Linked DNA regions of Homo sapiens: region 1 is linked to region 2. Evidence: promoter capture Hi-C in 16 types of primary human blood cells and fetal thymus (Javierre and others, 2016). All regions are on one chromosome and are shown on one strand. The core of a region is centred on a gene start or on the middle of the fragment in contact, and the rest is flanking DNA. Distances in the headings are between cores, read along the strand shown. Region 1 overlaps LOC101929297 (a long non-coding RNA gene). Region 2 holds the start of RPS6KA2-AS1 (RPS6KA2 antisense RNA 1).

The links. The method cuts DNA at HindIII sites, captures the fragments that hold promoters and counts their contacts. A CHiCAGO score of 5 or more calls a contact.
Region 1: a fragment that was not itself captured here is called in contact with the fragment with the promoter of RPS6KA2-AS1 in region 2 in 1 of 17 cell types (endothelial precursors); the score reaches 5.4 in endothelial precursors.

What each region holds. Positions count from the first base shown.
Region 1 is chr6:166,246,323-166,249,398 of GRCh38, forward strand. All of the region lies in intron 2 of LOC101929297 (a long non-coding RNA gene), which reads left to right. Among named protein-coding and RNA genes, the nearest start is that of PRR18, 61 kb to the right of the region's middle. The HindIII fragment of the contact is 1,053 bases long and covers 823-1,875 here.
Region 2 is chr6:166,901,935-166,905,210 of GRCh38, forward strand. It overlaps RPS6KA2-AS1 (RPS6KA2 antisense RNA 1), which reads left to right and starts at 1,764. Exons shown (of 2, transcript NR_046644.1): 1 at 1,764-1,854; 2 at 2,366-3,135. RefSeq lists enhancers at 1-348, 1,519-2,200, 2,201-2,881. The HindIII fragment of the contact is 22,454 bases long and covers 1-3,276 here.

The DNA.
Region 1 (3,076 bases), core at 99-2,598, 660 kb before region 2:
CCCTCGTATTGAACTGAACTTTAACTTCTTTGTAAATTATTCCCATTGGCCTTATTTCTGGTCTCTGATGCTACCTAGAATAAATACGAAATATATTTATTGGAATATTTCTTGCCTTAGCTCAGGCTACTGTAACACAATTTCACATGCTGGATGGCTTAAACAACAGAAATTTATTTTCTCACAGCTCTGGAGGCTGGAAGTCCAAGATCAGGATGTCAGCATGGTTGAGTTCTGGCGAGGGCCTCCTCCTGGCTGGCAGACAGCAGAGAACATCAGTCCCCTGTAAGGCCTCCCTCATGATCTCATTGAACCTTGTCACTGCCCAAAGGTGACCTCCAAATACCACCACATTGAAGATTAGGTCTTCGACATAGAAATTTTGGGGATGAGAAGGACACAGTGCAGTCCACAGCAGAATAGTCAATAAAACATGAAATAAGTATAAAATCCACATGCAAACCCCAGGTATTTCAGGCTACTTACACCTCCCCTTGGACCTTTCTTTCCAGGCTCAGATACACCTGCTTTAGTCTTTACTATGGGACAGCTTCTAGAGCTTTACCATCCAGCTGAGCTTTCATTCTTAAAAAGGACTACATTTTTCATCCTTGTTTTGAAACCTTCATGAAATTCCGTAAGTTGTCCACCAAAATCTATCCCATTCTTGCTAGCACTAAATACTTTTATAGCTATGTATATACCTATGGACAAATAAACTGATTTCAGTTCTTTGAATACAGAGGGGTAACCAAAAACCACACCAAAAATGCTTTAAAGTCTTTGATTTTTACAGAGATAATAAAGATGATTTCTTTCAAAAGCTTCGTATTTCTAACACTATTGGAGAAAACCACCTTTCCTAGCTTAATATGTAAGATTTATTTTGATTCAAAAGTGTTAACTGGAACTTCTGCCTCTAAAGTCACGACAGCATTTTGTCTTCTCTCTAGAGAACGCTGCACATTTGTAAATGAAACTTTCAGCCATGTTCAACCATCGGACAGACTGGCCCCCCCCAAATACCACCCTGTCTAGCAAATTGAGACTGTCACACCACATTCTTATTTTTTATTTTTTATTTTTGACGGAGTCTCACTCTGTCGCCCAGGCTGGAGTGCAGTGGAGCCATCTCCGCTCACTGCAAGCTCCGCCTCCCGGGTTCATGCCATTCTCTTGCGTCAGCCTCCCGAGTAGCTGGGACTACAGGCGCCCGCCACCATGCCCGGCTAATTTTTTGTATTTTTTAAGTAGAGACGGGGTTTCACCGTGTTAGCCAGGATGGTCTCAATCTCCTGACCTCGTGATCCTCCCACCTCGTCCTCCCAAAGTGCTGGGATTACAGGCGTGAGCCACCGCGCCCGGACCACATTCTCTTCTAAGGCAGGAATCATGCCTATCTTTTTGTACATCTTTGAAATGAAACTATGTGGATGATGCAAAATATTACTTTGCATGCAATTAGAATTTTTAAATGCCGGTTACACCAATCACTTTACTGAATGAATATTTTAATGCTAAGTGATGAAAAAGATGGAAACACAGTAGACATACAAAAATATTCCCTAAGAGAAATGAAAATATAATGTTAGATAACGCATTTGTCATCTATACGAGAAATCTCATCTGCTTTTCCTGGGGGAGCCCACTGTCCTTATCAGTGTGTACCACGGGCCTGGTTTCCTTCTCCTAGGAGCAGCCAAAAGCCAGGGTCCAGGATTAGACATTGCAAAGAGATATTTTAGCACCATCAAGAAGGCCGATTTGCTCATGTGGTAGTAGAACATTGCATTTGATATTATAAATTTTCATTAGCCTGTAAATAAAAAAGAATATAAATTCACAATGAGATATACTGCTTAATATTAAGGATAAAGCTTTAATAGTTAAACAATAAATTCTTCCTTTGGTGTAAAACTAGAAATGTATAGTCCTTTCAACTATGCAAGATTTATTTTGATATTTCAATATTCAATAACATTTTTATATGCATATATATAAAGATATACATCTGGAAAACTCTTTAAATTTATCATCATGTAAAAAATTTTATTGATGTGTTATTCATTCTTAGAATTCTAGAGAAAATTAACTTTTTTATGTTGATAAAGACATAAAGACATGTTTTTATATACAATTTATACATTCCATAATTATAGTAAATAATATTTGTAGACACCTATTTAGATCAAAATCCAGTATTTTCTAGAAAATGGTACCATTGTCCTTTTGTGAATATTTATGGACAGGTTGCTCTCTCTCCATGCTAAGATTCCTTCCTAAGTCTAGTCCCATGACTATAGCAGACCTTTAATTACCAAATGCCCATTGAGATGTCCAGTTGCAATCAGGACGCCTTCTTCACACAAGTCTTCTTTTTTTTTTTTTGAGACGGAGTCTCGCTCTGTCGCCCAGGCTGGAGTGCAGTGGCACGATCTCGGCTCACTGCAAGCTCCGCCTCCCGGGGTCATGCCATTCTCCTGCCTCCCGAGTAGCTGGGACTACAGGCGCCCGCCATGACGCCTGGCTAATTTTTTGTATTTTTTTGTAGAGACAGGGTTTCACCGTGTTAGCCAGGATGGTCTCGATCTCCTGACCTCGTGATCCGCCCGCCTTGGCCTCCCAAAGTGCTGGGATTACAGGCGTGAGCCACCGTGCCCGGCCTTCACGCGGGTCTTCCATAAAACATAAAACAATTCCTAATGGCTGAGAGCAATATGTTAAAGACAAATACACTTCTAAACTCACAACAGAATTTTCTTTTTTACCTTCACTGATACAGGATTTCAGTAGTGAGAAAAGTTTTTTGTTCGCTGCCTTCTGTTTCTAATTTAAAACCTTTGTTCCGAGGTCCTAGCTTTCTGTGTCCATTCAAAAAGATTCACAGCCTGGGAGTGCTCACGGATCTGAGTCCTGTTCACACACATAAACAGGCAGCTCACAATGGAATGCATGAAGTCATTCTACTAACAATGTTTTTGGGGGTTTTTTTTGTTTTTTTGAGACGGAGTGTCGCTCTTGTTGCCCGGGCTGGAGTGCAATGGCGCAATCTCGACTCACTGCAACCTCTGCCTCC
Region 2 (3,276 bases), core at 514-3,013:
AACGCCGCGTGAACGCACACAGGGGAAATAACGCCGCGCGAACACACAGGGGGAAGAACGTCACAGGGACGCACAGTGGGGAAACGCCATGTGAACGCACAAAGAAAGAACGCCACGTGAACTCGCACACGCGGGGAGAACGCCGGGGAAACGCACACAGTAAAGAGAACGCAGTTTGAACGCACAGGGGAGAGAACGCCACGTGAACACACAGAAGGGAGAATGCAGTGCGAACACACAGAAGGGAGAACACCTGGTGAAGGCACAGAGGGGAGAACGCCGAGCGAACGCACAGGGTGGAGAATGCCATGTGAACGCACAAAGAAAGGAGAACCCCTGGTGAACGCACACAGGAGAAAGAATGCCGAGGAACGCACAGAGTAAAGAGACCGCCGTGGGAACACACAGGGGAGAGAACGCCACGTGAACACATGGGGAGAACGCCGCGGGAACACACAGAAGGGCGACCGCCTGGTGGATGCACAGAGGGGAGAACGCCAGGGGAACACACACAGGGGAGAACGCTGGGCGATCACACAGGGTGGAGAACGCCGGGTAAATACACACTGGGGAAAACGCTGTGCAATCGCATAGAGGGAAGAACGCCGGGTGAACACACAGGGTGCGTTCTTCCATCATGCGGCTGCGCCTGAGTCTCTGAGTCTACTCTGGCTTAGAAGGCTGCCTGATTCGCAAATTGTTTATTGCTCAATTACATGCTTTTAAATTTAATTCAGCTGAAGTGTTTCTTTTCTCACGGCCCACCCACTAGATGTGGCTCTGTCACTGGTGCTGGCCAGTGGGGCGTGGAGGGACCGGTGTCCTTCCCAGCACAGACACAAGGAAGCGGCTGTGCCTTCTCCACACTCTTCTCCCTGACTCTTGGCTACAGCTGTAAACCCAGGGTTAGATTCAGGGGCCTGTGACCTCCAATGGGAAAACAACTGCATTATTTGTACCTCATATTTAGTATTTCCATCAATTATGAGTGTAGGCAAAAAAGCACAGTAGCTTCAGCAGGACTGGTGTTTTGCTGGCAGTACAAAACATTTTCATATCCTATTCCTTGCTGTCTTGTGTTTTCTTTAATGTGTTAAAAAATCTTATTCTGAGACCATCAGGCCACTGGAAGGGGTTCATGGCACAAAAAAAGATGCAGCCCAGCAATAAGGTGAAAGAGAGATGACGGAGCCACTGGACACAAGAAGCCTTGCACCCTGAGTCACCCCGTGGAGCACTGACGAGCCTCGGCTCCTGATTCATTATGCGGAGTGCTGCCTAGTACCAGGAGCAACAGCACTGGACAGGGACATGAGTAAGAAATAAAACTTCCAGAGCGTGAAGCTAGTGAAATGATGGGATGTGTTTATCACAGGGCTAGCATCATCCTAACCAGCATGGAGACATGCGGGGCTGTGAACGGGAGCCTAGAGCTGCAAATTAGACAAGCCTGGGCCAGGAGACCTTTTGCAGGCTGCAAAGCTGCTCTCTCCTTTGCCTCCTCTGTACCTCAAAGGACCTGGGGTGGTGAAGGGAGTTGTGGGCCGACCTGAGTCAGCCTGAACAGGCTGTTCCTTCAGCAGATTCCTCAAGCTCTGCCCCGGCCCCTTCCTCGGCCCACCCCAGCTTGCCCTCCAAGGGGTATTATCACTGTGACCCTCGTCTCCTCCTCCTGTTCAGGCTTTGCCTTGGCAGCGCAGCAGTGCCCCTCTGCAAAGGGGTCTCGCATGCTGTTCAGCAGCTCTCTTCCCGCCACAGCGATGGGCAGCCGGATCCCAGCTGGAACTCCGCCACATCCCAGGAATGTGAATACCAGTGGAATCCGGATAGGACGGTGTGACCCAGGCACAGTGGGTGAGAACCGGAGCTTGGCTAGCAGGCAGGGGTTCAGCTGCTTCCTGACCTGTGCCCTGGCACCTCTGACCTGGCCGGAGCTTCTCAGGCAGTGACCACTGCTGAAACTTTGAGACCCCAACATGTGTGGGAGCATTTCTAAGCCTTCCTTGCATGGACACACTCCTCCCTAACGCTGTCCCATTTTCCAGACAGGGTCTCACCCACCCCGCACTGCTGCCCCCAGTGCTTTGATTCAGCCCCTCAGCTGTGAATGGAGTTGGTTCCTCATATGAGATCTCAATAAGACTATGGTGGGAGTCGGCGTAGAGCAGGGAAAGCCTGGACTTTCTGCCAGAAGGTCGGGGTGGGGCAGTGCAGGCCACGGCACCTCCCGGCTCTGTGCACAGGGTGGGCCACCCCAACCCGGCTCCTCACACTTCACGGCATGCAGCAGCCTCCTGGGCCCTGGGAACATGCAGACTCTGAGCAGCAAGACTGCGCAGGACCCGACATTTGCATTTCTAAACAGCTCCCAGGGGACGCCAATGCTGCGGGCTGAGGCCCACGCTGGAGGAACACCGGCCAGTGGGCAGCTTTGGGTGAACTTCAGAGTGGGTGGAAGCGCAGCTGCCCCGCCTGCCCCCACGGCTGCTGCGCGATCAGGAAACACAGCACACTCCTAAGTGAGTCGTCACCATGGTGACTTTTGGATTCCCACTGCCAGTTCCTGTGGAGTCAGAGAGATCTTAGCTCAGAAGTGCTGACAGCAGGGGCTGGCTGGCCACTGGCCACATGGGAAGAGGAGAAAGGCAGCAGGAGCCACCGTGAGGCAAATGAGCTACAAGACGCCGCTCCGTCTGATTTCCCGCCACAGCTCCCAACACAGGTGAAATGGCTCAGAACAGCTCAGCATGTCCTACTGAGGGGCAGGAAGGATGCTGAGAAAATCCCAGGCAGCGGTCTCAGCTGGGATGTAATTTGAGGGCGAAAAAGTTGTGTTGCTTGCGGTTTCTTCCTTGCTCCTTGCAGGTTATATTTGAAATGAATGTCAGAGCCATGCGGCCGCTGCCAACTAATTCCCAGCTAAGAAGGTAAACACCAGCATCACCTGGGTCTTCTGGTCTACCTGATTCTGCAGCTCAGAGGGAACCATGCAGCTGGCAAAAATGACAGCGAGGGCAGGACTATGACCCAATTAAAGGAATGTGAGTTAAAACATGGGGAGCCAAACACCCAAATTCCAGCCTGATCCTAACTGTATGTAGGCATTAAACCCTTATGCTGTCATTCCCACCACCGAGTAGAAAGTGTGGCACGTGGCTTTGTATCACTGTAAATATGATTCTATTTTACTGGCCTTCAGCCTCCCTCCTTTTGCTCACAGCCTTTACTGCAGCCAGCAGAGAGGGGCACTGCCTCCAGCACAGCCCAAGCGAGCTG